3 separate regions of the Homo sapiens genome follow, and regions 2 and 3 are each linked to region 1. The links are contacts of gene promoters, found by promoter capture Hi-C in human tissues and cell types (Jung and others, 2019). All regions are on one chromosome and are shown on one strand. Each heading gives the region's core, a stretch centred on a gene start or on the middle of the fragment in contact. The rest is flanking DNA. Distances are from core to core; before and after follow the strand shown. Region 1 holds the start of MC3R (melanocortin 3 receptor). Region 2 holds the start of CASS4 (Cas scaffold protein family member 4). Region 3 overlaps AURKA (aurora kinase A).

What was found. The method cuts DNA at HindIII sites, captures the fragments that hold promoters and counts their contacts. A contact is called where the count stands out against the background at its distance.
Region 2: the fragment with the promoter of CASS4 here is called in contact with the fragment with the promoter of MC3R in region 1 in 1 of the 25 tissues and cell types used here (adrenal gland).
Region 3: a contact is called between a fragment that was not itself captured here and the fragment with the promoter of MC3R in region 1, in 1 of the 25 tissues and cell types used here (hippocampus).

The regions. Positions count from the first base shown.
Region 1 is chr20:56,246,320-56,251,059 of GRCh38, reverse strand. MC3R (melanocortin 3 receptor) reads right to left here and starts at 2,328. Exons shown (of 1, transcript NM_019888.3): 1 at 1,245-2,328. The coding sequence starts at 2,216. The coding sequence ends at 1,245. RefSeq lists a silencer at 2,858-2,927. The HindIII fragment of the contact is 18,891 bases long and covers 1-4,740 here.
Region 2 is chr20:56,410,039-56,414,778 of GRCh38, reverse strand. CASS4 (Cas scaffold protein family member 4) reads right to left here and starts at 2,519. Exons shown (of 6, transcript NM_020356.4): 1 at 2,285-2,519. The coding sequence starts at 2,320. The HindIII fragment of the contact is 13,693 bases long and covers 1-4,740 here.
Region 3 is chr20:56,382,377-56,387,116 of GRCh38, reverse strand. It overlaps AURKA (aurora kinase A), which reads left to right. Exons shown (of 9, transcript NM_198437.3): 3 at 584-860; 4 at 2,793-2,847; 5 at 3,941-4,132. Among named protein-coding and RNA genes, the nearest start is that of AURKA, 7.5 kb to the left of the region's middle. RefSeq lists an enhancer at 1-1,031. The HindIII fragment of the contact is 3,694 bases long and covers 409-4,102 here.

The DNA.
Region 1 (4,740 bases), core at 1,079-3,578:
AATTGAAGTTATCTTGGGCAGAAAAGGATCTGACAATGCGAGCACTAGTCAGCCAGTCTCACCCTTTGCTCCCAGGAATGAATTCCTGTACTTGATAGGATATAGACATTGATAACAGGGTCACTCAACTTTAACACAATGCCAAGCAAAAAGGGAAAAGAACAAAAAAACTTTCTCTTTCATAGATAATATTGAAGAAGTCCTGTGATAGAGATGCAATTACTATAAGCAAAAACAAGGGCTCCCAAGAAAGTCACACAGTGGTTCTACGGTTTCTCAAACTATCTTAAGCTACAGTAAAGCAATTTCTTGTGATACACACACACACACACACACACACACACACACACACACACGTATATACATGTACCCCAACCCATGATTTCCTTTCTTGTTTTAAAGGCTAAAAGTAAATGATAGAAAAAAAGAAGTTATTTTAAAAAGATTAATCTATACCTTAAAATAGCAAGGTATCAAAATACACGTACACAAGTATATTCTGATTGTCCAAAGCACTTTCTCTCTTTCGTTAGAGTTTTGAAGGTTGTCTTAGATTTAATCCATAAAAACAAAACAACAACACACACCAACACAACAACAGAAAAATAGAAGTGGGTTACATCCTCATGCTACCTTTGGGGGTGGGGACAACTGAAGGGATATGGGGGTAAGAAAAGGGGAAAACGGCATAGCATTGCTCCTTTCACAAAGAGACAATTGTCTAACTGTAAATAGAATAATAGAGTAGAACTCAGTCTCCTACGGAGTTATAAGTGCAAAGCTATCTCTCCGTGTAGCTGGCAGCAGGAGGTCGTAGCTGTAACAGGTTTGCTTGCAAGAGATCTGAACCACCCTTATTGTTCATGAGAATCCTTCAGTCTGGTCTGGCCTGGAGCATGAAGACGTGGGTGTGGAGCAGATGAGCAGACAGGCGTCGCACACCCTGGGTGTTTGGAAATGAGTGCAGAGAGCATGCAGAGAAGCCTTCGCTGATTTCTCCCAGTGACTATTTGGGAAATCAGAGTTTGTGACTTACCCATCTTGGAATCCTTTCAGAGAATCTGTTGTTCACCAATTTTCCCCTTTAAAAGGCTTTGTAAACTTAAAAACAAACGACAAGTACAATCATGGCTGTTAACACATTTTTATATTTTCTAAGTATATATATTTTTCTTTCTAAACACCTCACGTGGATGGAAAGTCAAAAGTGACCCGACTGATGATCATTTCCATGGCCCTGCATCCTATCCCAAGTTCATGCCGTTGCAGCCACAGAGAATCTCCCTAAAGGTGTTGCGCAATTCCAGGCTCCGGAAAGCGTAGATGAGTGGGTCGATGACGGAGTTGCACATGATGAGGACCAGGTAGGTGTTGAAGTGGGCAGTGTAGCAGATGCAGTAGGGGTTGGTGGGGCAGGTGATGATGAGGACCAGGTGGAGGAAGAAGGGGGCCCAGCAGAAGATGAACACGCCCAGGAGAATGGTGATGGTGACTGCCCCCTTCATGCATGAGTGTTGCTGTGGGGCCACCCCGTCGGCAGGTGGCAGTGCTGCTATGCGCTTGACGTGCAGCCGCGCAAAGAGGAACATGTGCACGTAGAGGGTGCCCATGAGGAGCATCATGGCGAAGAACATGGTGATGAGGCACACAATGACCATTTTGCTCTCCGAGTAGACGATGAACACCACGCCACAGACGCCGCAGCAGACCCAGATGGCCACGATCAAGGTGAGGGCCTTCCTCACGGTCATGATGCTGTGGTAGCGGAGCGCGTAAAAGATGGTGACGTACCTGTCGACGGCGATGGCCAGGAGGTTGCAGATGGAGGCCACCAGGGAGATGCAGATCATGGAGTCGAAGATGTTGTCCATGTGCTGGATAAACTGGTCCTCGAAGGTCAGGTAGTCGCTGTGGACGATGGCGATCATGATGGTCTCCAGGGCATTGGACACACTTACCAGCATGTCGGCCACCGCCAGGCTGCAGAGAAAGAAGTACATCGGGGAGTGCAGGTTGCCGTTCCTGACCACGGCCAGGATAACCAGGATGTTTTCCAGCAGACTGACGATGCCCAGAGACAGGAAAACCTCGGGCTTGATGAAGACCTGCTCACAGAAGGCGCTGCTGCTCTGGTTGCTGAAGAAAGGGGCTTGGAGGTGCTCCGAGCCATTAGGCAGTGTTGGCTGAACAGAGGGCAGGCAGCACGAAGCATTCATTGCTGTCAGAAGGGCTGATCCGAGCTGGGGCTCCAGCAGGGTCCGTAGGAAGCTGCTGCTGCTCACAGGAAAGACAAAATCTCCCTCCAGATACGTCTTTTGGATGCTCATTCAATCTGGCCTTAGAGTTTATTCTCCTCTAGAATAAAAGGATGGGGAGGGTAGAGAGACAGATAGTGAGAGAGGGTGGAGGAAGAGACAGAGAGAGAGAGAGACATACACACAGAGAGAAAGAGCGAAGGGGGAAGAGAGAGAGAGAGGGAGAGTAGCTAGTTAGTAGCTAGCATGCAAGTTTGTAGCTTGGAGACATAGGGAGAACTTTGCTGTTCCAGGAGGAGCAGTTTTTATCTTGTTTACATAGAAAAAATACACCATAGGGTCTCTTACCAGCTGTCTTCCTTCTGTCTCCCTCTCACCCCTCTGTTTGTCTCTCCTCACTTCCCCACCTGGGAACAGAAAACCTGCCACCGGCTGCTACAGTTACAGCTCTTTTCATGGCAAGACAGGGGATGTGTTACTTGTCGCTAGAAGTGAAGGGAGAACACTCAGGTTTTTCATATTGGCCAAGGGCAAACAACTCCTACTTAATCTTCAGCGCAGCAGAATGACCACTGAGCATCGGGCACCTCTCTGACTGACAGCAGGTACCTGGCCCTGAGGATTCTGCAGGGAGATTAAGAAGCAGACTAGTGCCCTCTGCAGGCCGCACGGCTGTCTGCTTGCTGGCTTGGCTTAGCCCTTTGTGTTTGTCATGGAAACTGCCACAGGCATCCACTCATCTGTTCATTTGTTTGTTTATTTGTTAGTTCATTCATTTGTTGTTGTTGTTTAGCAAACATTTATTGAGCGCCTACTATGTGTCAGGTCTCTGCTGAGTGCAGGAAATACAGTGGTGAGCAAGACAACAGCCACTATCTCAGGCTTCCCCGAACTCAGAGTCTGGGGTGGAAGAAGAGGAATCAATAAATGCTTGAATCAGGAAAGTCCAGGAAACCAGGGATGCAAAGAGGAAGAGCCCTAACCCGGACTGTCAAAGTTCCTGGAGGAAGGAGCACCTATGCTTTGACTTCAAGGAGGAAGAGGTCATATCCAGTTTGGGGTGGGTGGTGGGGTGGGGGCTGGAGCTGGAGGAGGTAGAAGAGGACTCCAGGCAGAGGGAATCACACGTCTGCAGCCTGGAGGCAGAGAGCACCCTGGCCATAGAAGTCATCACAGATTGTGGATGTGGAGATCCCATTTGACCCGCGGAGTCAGAATCACCCAGGTGTAAGACCTGAACAAGTGTGTTTGCAATTTTTGACAGGTGAGCTGGGGCATAGTCACAGTTGAGCTCCACTGAAAAAGAATCTTGGGCTTTTGAAAGTGCTGAAAGTAGTCTGCTCTGGTCAGAGCATGGAAATAGGAGACACAATCTGAGAAATGAGGCTGCACAGTTTCTTAAAAAGTTGAGAGGTGCCTGAATCCTGAAGGACAGCCTCAGCCAGATGTGAGAATTTGGACAGTACCTTGACAGCAATGGGGACTGTGGAAGAAACATAGGTAGGGCAGGAATGAGATGGGGTCTGCATTTTAGAAATATTCCTGGTTGCAGGGTGGAGAATGAATTAGACAGACTGAGCATGTAGGCCAGGGAGTCCGGGGCAGAGGGTGTTGCAAAGACCCAGGGTGAGATGATGGTGGCCTGGAGCAAGGGAGTGGCCATGGGGACTTGGAAGACTTGGAGGGTGGTCAGAGAGATTCAGAAGGTTGGATAATGCAGCTTCAGAACTGATGGGTTATGGGATCATGGGAGAGGGAGCAGTCAGAAACACCTGTACTTCTTTCTTACATAATGGGGAGGATGGAGATGTTTTAAGCTGGAAAATGTGAAAGGCAGAAGTTAGCAGGTGGCCTACTAATGTAGTGTTGTTCTTGGAAGTATGGTTTAACACTTGGTCCATGTTAGATCTGATTCCCCATGTAGATCATATGAACTCAGAAAACACTGAGTCTTCTCATCCCTACACACACACACACACACACACACACACACACACACGCACATTCTAGGTGAATTAATGATCCATCTCTCCATGTAACTATGTATGTGTGTGTAGGTGTGAGAAATATTAAAAATATGCATATGGAAATAGAAGAAAACTTAGGATCCTTGGGGTGGAAAGATCTTAAGCAAGATGAGCAATCCAAAATTTAGTATGGAAAAACACCCTGAACTAAGTTAAAAGAAAAACAGAATGAAAATATTTGCTATAGGTAAAGTTACTATCTCTTACATACAAAGACTACTTTCACATTAACTAGAAAAAGATAAATTACCCCTAAGAAAATTGGGCAAAGGATATAAATAATAATTTACTGAAGAGAAGATGCAAATGGTTAATAAACATGAAAAGATGTGAAGCCATCTAGGAAGTTGGGGAAATGCCAGTCAAAATGAGATTTTAATATCGTTTTCCCAGCTAGATTGACAAGAGATAAAAAGATGCAAAATTCAGGTAAGAATATCGGGAGGACACTCTCATGC
Region 2 (4,740 bases), core at 1,270-3,769, 160 kb before region 1:
GAGATGGGGTTTCACCATTTTGGCCAGGCTAATCCCCTGACCTCAGGTGATCCACACGCTTCAGCCTCTGAAAGTGGTGGGATTACAGGCATGAGCCACCGCTCCCGGCCTATCTGTATAATATTAATAGCAGAATTTCATGGGGATGCTGGGAATATCAATTATATGTTCTATGCAAACATGCATGTTATTTACAAATTGCAGTGGGGCTCGGTGGTGTGCACCTGTAATCCTGTACTTGGGAGGCTGAGGCAGAAGAATCACCTGAGTTCAGGAATTTGAGTCCAGCTTGGACAACAGAGTGATACCCCCATTGCTAAAAATATTTTTTTTAAATAACAAAACCCCACCCAATTGTAAAGCGCTACATAAATTATTTAGGCAGAATAAGCAGTACATAAAAAGAAGTCTAAATCATAAAAAATCTAGGCTGTTTAGAAAAAAGGTCAATGTTATGAAAGAGAAAAAGGTAGTAGATTGTTCTAGATTAAGAACTGAGAATTGACAAACACCACCTGGATCAGAAAGACAAACACACACACAAACAACAACAGCCAGAAAAGCTAAAAAGGATAATTTTGGAAAATGTGAATGTGGACTGAATAGTAGAATGGCATTATTAAATCAACGTGAATTAGACTGAATAGTAGAAAGGCATTATTAAATAAATGTGAAATGTTCTTGGGTATGATGATATGTAGATATTCTTCTACGTTCTGTAGATGAATGTCCTTGTTCTTAGGAGACACATAATGAAGTTTAGGGGTGGAGCGTCATTGTATTGGCCATTTATTTTCAAAGAGTTTAACAACAACAATAAAAATGAAGTGTGTTCCAGTGTCTAAATATACACAAATAAATGCACACAAATATGACAAAGTACCAGAAACCAATGATCTAGGTGAAGGATATGCAGGGATTTACTGAATAACCCCCACGCTTCCCATATTTTTCCAATGGTTTGAAATTTTTCAAAGTAAGTAGTTGGGGACAAAATTCTAGGGTAGCTAAGATATTTACATATAATCTATACAAGAGAGACTGTCATGGGTTACTCAGTCACAAATTCCACTAGTGACTTTTTTTTTTTTTTTTTTTTTTTTTTTGAGACAGAGTCTTGCTCTGTCACCCAGGCCGGAATGCAGTGGTATAATCTCAGCTCACTGCAACCTCTGCCTCCCAGGCTCAAGCGATTCTTGTGCCTCAGCCTCCCGAGTAGCTGGGATCACGGGCATGCGCCACCACGCTCAGCTAATTGTTGTATTTTTGGTAGATATGGGGTTTTTTCATGTTGATCAGGCTGGTCTCAAACTCCTGGCCTCAAGTGATCCACCTGCCTTGGCCTCCCAAAGTGCTGGGATTACAGGTGTGAGCCACCGCAGACAGCCACACTAGTCACTTTTATTATAATGAAAAATAAGCATTGATTTTTATAAGCAAGCTCCCCATTTACTGCTTGTTTCATTTCTTTTTTCCTGTTCTACTTAAAATTTAAAAAGGGCATAGCAAGATGAAAACACAACCTTGAGCTTCACTTTCTTTATGTCTGGGTAAATTTTTTTTTAATATGGTAGCCATTTTAACTTTTCTTTTCTTTTTTTTTTTTTTAAGATGGGGTCTCGCTATGTTGCCCAGGCTGGACTCAAACTTCTGGGCTGAATTAATCTTCTCACCTCAGCCTCTCCGGTAGCTGGAGTACAGGTATGTACCACCGTGCCTGGCTTCTTTCACCTTTCTAAATAGTGAATCTTTTTTGATTCATGACAGGCATGAAGTCTGTCTGAAAGCTCCAGCTTTGCTCACATAATGCACAAGTTAACATGAAAATAACATGTAAGTGCCCACTGTGGGCTCAGCACGGGAGGCTGCAGGCAAGGGTCTGGGCTCTGCTGTTGGGAGGTGAGCACAGAAACCAAATAGGACAGTTAGAGTGGCACTGAGTGTCTTTGGGGTCCAGAGAAAGAAGGAATTAGCGGGGGCTGAGGCAGACTCGCATCTTGCTTCAGGAGTTTGCTGGACGCAAAATGATGGACGGCGCTGTCAACCAAGTAAGCTGATTTCTACTACAAAGTCATTTTCACCCATCTTGGATGCAAACTGGTAAGGAGCTTTACAACACATCTATTTCCCACACTTAAACTTATGTTAAACTTTCCCATCTCCAACTCACACGTCACTGGTATTCAACCTTTATTAGAAAGTCACAACTAAAGCTGGTCAACACCCTTAATCATCACAGCTTGCTCCCCGCCAGAGCCCATTCAAACAGCCCCACATCACTCACCTTGGGCGCACAGTCCATGATGCCTGTTCCCTTCATGTCGGTGATGTGGAGCAGCTCCCCTGAGCTCTGCAGCTAGTATCTCCAGCTTCAGAGGCAGATTGTGCAATGTCACTGCATGCTTCTGGCTGGTTCTCAGAAACTGAATTCTATGGAGCTATCTGACAACACATGGGAAACGATCAAAAAGACTCTCCCAGCAGGCAAACTTTCTGGAAAGCACGATAAGAGTAAAATGAAAGCAGTGAAGCAGGGGAGGACCAGAAATACAAGCCACACTCACGTCTCAATGCCTGACGTCTCACTTTGTCTGTAAGTAGAGACTGTCACTCATTTGCTATGTGAAACCACAAAAGAAGAAGAAGAAGAAAAAAACACCACTCTTCTGCTTTATAGGGCGAAGTTCCTACTTCGAAGAGCTCAGTGTATGAACACACAGCATTCTTGTCCTTTGAACTCTGTGGAACAACTCCAACCGAACAGACCAAGCTCATTTCCCTGATGAGAGGCCACTAGGCCAAATTTCTGATAGCGGTCAGCATTTCTTCCTTCCTGCTCCCTAAAACTTGCCTTATGACAGCCAGGATAAAAGCAGTCAAACAGGCTGCCTTAAAGGACACAGTCTCCACTCTACCCACCCTGTCAGTTGTGCATTCACCCTGCTCGGAACCCCATGCTCATCTCCTGGTCTTTGCTCATGGTACCTAATGAATAACATCTTCTGGGTACTGGCTCTGCACTGAGGGCTATGCTGAGCCCCGCACCTGTATTCTCTCTCTTAAATCAAATAAACTTATCGTGTGTGTTGTACTTGAAACCCCTGCTAGCTCATGCAGTTTATCATCACTTGCCAACTCTTTTTACTTTTCCTAAATTCAGATCCAATCTCTAGAGAGGACCTACAGCATAGCAGACACTGAGCAAAATAAGTCTGCATTTTTTTTTTTTTTTGAGACGGAGTCTTTCTCTGTCACTCAGGTGGGAGCGCAGTGGCGCAATCTCGGCTCACTGCAACCTCCACCTCCCGGGTTCAAGTGATTCTCCTGCCTCAGCCTCCAGAGCAGCTGGGATTACAGGCACCCGCCACCACGCCTGGCTAATTTTTGTATTTTCAGTAGAGACAGGACTTCACCATGTTGGCCAGGCTGGTCTCAAACTCCTGACCTCAAGTGATCCACCCACCTCAGCCTCTCAAAATGCTGGGATTACAGGCGTGAGCCACAACGCCTGGCCCCGGCCTGCATTTTTATTTAGACAAAATGGTGCCCATTCTTCCAAGCCAGGCTCAAGTTCTATCCCCAACCAGCTGTGGGGGATAGCTTACCGCTATCTTCTTGTCAGACAGCATTTTTTAATTTTTTATTTTTAAATTTTCTTTTCTTTTACCACACCTCTGAGGCAAGTTCAACAGATAGCACTTAGCGTCTTGTCCTCTGGTTGTCCCATGTGTCGTCCCCACAAGTCTGGGCACCAGGATGTATTTACCCATTGAAGTAGCTGACTGATTTCTGGCTGAGACAGTCCACATTTTTAAATGTTATCATTGTTAGAAATTAACTTCAGGGCCAAGTAATTGGCATGCTGCAGGCGATAGCAGATAACAGGGAGGGAACAATGACCCCACGCAATGAACAGTTTGGTTCAAGGAGGAGATCCATAGAGATATTAAGATATAAATTATATTAATAATAATATATTAATATTATATTAAGATATAATTCAGGTACCATAAAATTCACCTTTATTTATTTATTTTTTTTGAGACGGAGTCTTGCTCTGTCACCAGGCTGGAGTGCAGTGGTGTAATCTCGGCTCACTGCAACCTCCACCTCCAGGTTTCAAGAGATTCTCCTGCCTCAGCCTCCCAAGTAGCTGGGATTATAGGTGCGTGCCACCATGCCCGGCTAATTTTTTTGTATTTTAGTAGAGACAGGGTTTCACCATGTTGGCCAGGATGGTCTTGATCTCCTGACCTCGTCATTCACCTGCCTTAGCCTCCCAAAGTGCTGGGATTATAGGTGTGAGCCACCGCACCTGGCCAATGCACCTTTTTGAAGTATACAATTCAGTGGTTTTTAGTACATTCAGAGTTGTGCAACCACCATTTCAAAAAGTAATCCTCTTTCAATTCCTGGACATTTACCCCATTAGCAGTTACTTGTTCTTCCCCCAGCCCCTGGAAACCACTGTTTCTGCTGTATTGTTGACTTTTATGTCTGAAATTCTCTGTAATGAAAAGGAAGGATGGATAAACTTGCCCAAGGTCACAGAGTAAAGTAACAGACCCAGAAACTGAATTCAAGTCTCTTAGAAAAGACTCCACAGTAACTCAAGTTCAGATGGTTTCCATCAACTTGGCAGACTCCCGGCAGTGATTCTTCCCTATACTGAAGAGCCTGCCCTTAAGCTCATAATACAGATCAGAATGCTATAATTCACAAGTTGTTTTTTCTAGGGAA
Region 3 (4,740 bases), core at 1,006-3,505, 140 kb before region 1:
TTTCCTCTTTGTCAGTTTTTTGCTCAATTCCATTTTGTCAATACTTGGAAAATGAAACATTGGTTAATCAATAGTACAGTAATAAGCTTATTGTGGAAAATCTTCGATATATGAAAACTTAGACTCTTCTAAAACTTCATGAAGATAATACCACTGTTGAACGTTTTGACGTATTTTTTTTTGGTCTTTTTCTTAAACGTATATTATCAAAGAAATTTCAATGGAACTGAGATTTTGGCATAAAGTTTTTGTATCATAGCTTTTTGCCAAATAGCAATGTAGTGTCTATTTCCAAATTATTGAGAAATTTTAGAAAGTGTCTCCTTCATTAATGGATATTTGTTAATAAAGCATGATTTTTAGGGGTGAGGAATTGGAGGGGATAGAAGGTATCATTCAGGTATTCTTAGCCACATACTAACTATCCTCTGGAGGTACTGATTAAAATACCTTTTCACCTTCCATCTCTTATCAGTGACATTCATTATTTTGCTATACTAGAGAACAAACTTTGTGAAATTCTCAATATATTCATCTTTTGCTTTCATGAATGCCAGAAAGTTTATTTTCTCTTCCATTCTAGGCTACAGCTCCAGTTGGAGGTCCAAAACGTGTTCTCGTGACTCAGCAATTTCCTTGTCAGAATCCATTACCTGTAAATAGTGGCCAGGCTCAGCGGGTCTTGTGTCCTTCAAATTCTTCCCAGCGCATTCCTTTGCAAGCACAAAAGCTTGTCTCCAGTCACAAGCCGGTTCAGAATCAGAAGCAGAAGCAATTGCAGGCAACCAGTGTACCTCATCCTGTCTCCAGGCCACTGAATAACACCCAAAAGAGCAAGCAGCCCCTGCCATCGGCACCTGGTAAACTAGCTTTTGAGACTCATTGGATAGTCCTTCTTTGTCGTCGTTGCTAAAAAAGCCAGTGTATATACTTGCACTTATTGTTTGGAGCCTTAGCTTTTATATCTGTTGAGGATGGGGAGAAAATATGGTGTCTGGGTTGAAGTAACAGTGTCTGCCCATGGGCCAGACCTATGCTAAAAATACAGACCTGATTCTCACCCTCTTGGAAGAGTTGGGCACCCAGGGAGGACACAGCATAAATTGGTGTCCTTTTGATTGCTTGTTACTGAGTCTGGATGTAGGGTGCTTGCAGTAAGTGACTTGAAGGGACTGAGATCTAAAGTGTGGGGGAAATCCAGAGAAGTGGGTGAACTGAGGCAGGCTGCGGTGAGGTCACCATGGGCATTGCTGGCCATGTTAAGGAATGGGGCCTCATCTCTAGGGCATTTGGAAGCTACTGAAGCTTTTTTGAACTCAGAAGGGAACTCTGCCTTTTAGAAAGTTTACTGTGGAAGGCCAGGCGCAGTGGCTCACGCCTGTAATCCCAGCGCTTTGGGAGACCGAGGCAGGTGGATCACCTGAGGTCAGGAGTTGGAGACCAGTCTGACCAACATGGAGAAACCCTGTCTCTACTAAAAATACAAAATTAGCCAGGCGTGGTGGTGCACGCCTGTAATCCCAGCTACTCAGGAGGCTGAGGCAGGAGAATGGCTTGAACCCAGGAGGTGGAGGTTGTGGTGAGCCGAGATTGTGCCATTGCATTCTAGCCTGGGCAACAAGAGCAAAATTCTATCTCAAAAAAAAAAAAAAAATTTACTGTGGAAGTACTGAATAAATTGGAGTAGAACGCTGGATTTAGGAGTACCAGACAGGAAGGAGGTTGAGGTCAGAGATGGCAATAACCTGCTCTGTGTGGAGCAGAGTGGATGCAATTATTTACCAACTGTTGAGTGCTCATTCCCTGCAGGCTCTGAGATAAGTGCGTGCTTCATCCACGTCATCTCTTTCAATCTTCGTAACCACTTCATGAAGGTAGCCAGTTATTAACTCAGTTTTACAGAGGAGGAAGCTAAGACTCAGAAGCAGTTAACTTATCCAAAGACAAGCCAGGATGGAGAGGTGCACACAAATTTGAGAGCTCATTTACGATGCAGACTCATTAGAACTGGGCAATAAATTGTACCTGAAAGATGAATAAAGAGGAGTTAGGGATGGTGATTAGATTGATATTAATTGAGTGAGTGTCCTGGGGGTTGAGGGGTGCACATGTGACAGGGGCATCTGGAGGAAGAGTTTGGACCAGCATCCAGATATCTGAGCAGAGCATTGTGTGCTGTTCGAGTTTGCTATGTTGGAGACAGACCAGTGGAAATGTTTCATATGTCCTTGTGGCTGATGAAATAGTTACCCCAGTCCTCTGCTGCACAACTGTTCATTGTGCATTTTGCTGAATTGGTGGCTTTTATTTTTATATTTCCCCTTGGCAGCTAATATAAATGGAGGGTGGCTGGCTTATGTTTTGCTACATGTTGGTGATAATTCGTATGTAGGGTATGGACTGTTGGCTGGCCCACCTAGTAAGGGGAAAAAGGTGACGAGTTGGCAGCTCGTCATGCATGGGAAGATTGGTACTTCTGCCACAAAAGCTCTTCTTTGGAAACTGAGGCTTCAGAAGAGCCTGCATAGTCTGCCTTTAATTTATCAGAGAAGGGCCTGTCTATATATACGTCTGCTCATCTTTAGAAATTCTATAAAGGCTTCACATGATGGAAGTCAGGGTGTAGTAGTCCTTTTTTTCTATAAGGAAAACTTTAAAAAAAAAAAACAGATTTATCATTCTTGACATACCATTAATATTTTGGTGACCAATTCTTTGATTCACCTCTATTCACAGCTTAGCTTATCCTATATAGTTATTCTAAAAACAGGTTTTTAACTTATTCCATATAGAAAATAATCCTGAGGAGGAACTGGCATCAAAACAGAAAAATGAAGAATCAAAAAAGTAAGCTTTCTTATTTACAAAGTTCTGTACTGTTCTACTAGAATATATTATTTCGTTGCAAATTTCGTTGTGGGAACTCTGGGGAAAAAAATGAGGCCTTTATTTGCATTTAGAGGATATAAATGTTTCCAGATTTCCAATCTTAAAAAAAATGGAATTTTGTGTAATGAGGTATTTTACTAGGAACTCAAGTGCTTTAAAAAATGGCTTTCAAATTTAGAAAAAGCTTGTATGAATCTTTTATAGAAATGTGTGGAAGTTCCTCTCTGTCCTTAGAAATAACCACTACATATGGTTTATGCGTCTGTACTTTTTTATTGTACAAAAGTGCAAGTTTTTAAAAAATAGAATATGTTGCAGAACTATATACTCATATATGACTGAGGGTTTTGACAGTATTATAGTTTTAGTTCTTTATTGTAAAGGTTGGCTGTAATGTCTTCCCCAGGGCTTTTCTAAAAGCCTCCTCTCAGTCTCTGAACTATCTGGACTCTAGAATGTACCGGGAGGAGCGAGGAATGAACCCACAGACTCTTTTGCTTTTAGCGGTCTAACAGAGGCTAAGAGTCTAAATCCACTGGTTCTCATGCCCCAGCTAGCCTGTGGGCTCCATCCCGCTTCCATTAGTAACAGTGGCTCTGTCTCCACCACCAGAGTGGTTCTCCACCCAGAGAGAATTAGCACCTCTGGGACTGGAGGGAGCAGCTGGGGTTAGTTTGAAACATGCCCCCAGATGGTCTGGAAGCATTCCTCCCTCTCTGGTCACTTATCCTTTTTGTGGTCTTCAGCGTTGTCATGGCCCTGTTCCTCTGAGCATAGTACGGGCTTGGGACATTTCCCATAGAGTGCTTCAGGTCTAAAACCCGAGACTGCTCCTTGTCACTGACTCTCACACCTGACGGCAGCTAGGGACGTCAGGGTTTCATGTCGTGGCAGCTCTTTGATAGTGGTTATTGCCTTGGTTCTTGCTGAGGATGCATATTGAGTGAAGTTGGAATACGAAATTATTTGTAGAATGTGTCTGCTACTCATTGAAAATTTGTTAGAAAAGCTTTGTTTTCTTCACATTCTAAAGTGTTCAAATTCCTCCTAGGAGGCAGTGGGCTTTGGAAGACTTTGAAATTGGTCGCCCTCTGGGTAAAGGAAAGTTTGGTAATGTTTATTTGGCAAGAGAAAAGCAAAGCAAGTTTATTCTGGCTCTTAAAGTGTTATTTAAAGCTCAGCTGGAGAAAGCCGGAGTGGAGCATCAGCTCAGAAGAGAAGTAGAAATACAGTCCCACCTTCGGTGAGTTTTCAGGTTCATGTTCAAAAGAATGTTCACCAATGCTGCACCCCTCCCCCTCCTGTAATGTCAGCCTCCCACTGCCCAGGTCCCTTCACTCCCTCTTACGAGGCACTGCCTTCAAATGCATGGCCCCGTTCCTCACCTCCCCCTCCCCTATGAAAAAGATTAGATAAGCTTCTGTACTGCACTGGGTTATAAGCATTCTCCTGTGATTCTCCCATGCTCTGCATGTTAAAATAAAATTGTATTCCTTTTTTTTTTTTTAAGTATAAATTTATTTTTTAGAGGGCCTGCTTTTCATAGTACCACAAAAAATGATTAAATTTGTCATCTTTCAAAGAGCACTTAAGTGCTCTGATCCTGGAAAAATCACTTGAGGATTTAATGTTTTGTTAATAGAATAGTTTATATGGGCAAGTCTTTCTGGTGGACAGTGAAGGGGAATGGCACCCCTTATTCTGAGGTATGCAGGAATTGCGAGCAGCTACCTGCAGGTTGACTACGGCTGGTGGGTTTTTGTTTTTCCTTTTTTTCTTTCAGTGTTTTTCAAATTTGAATCAGATGCTAATACTTCAAGTCTGGCCACATCAGGCCTGGTGTGTCTCTGC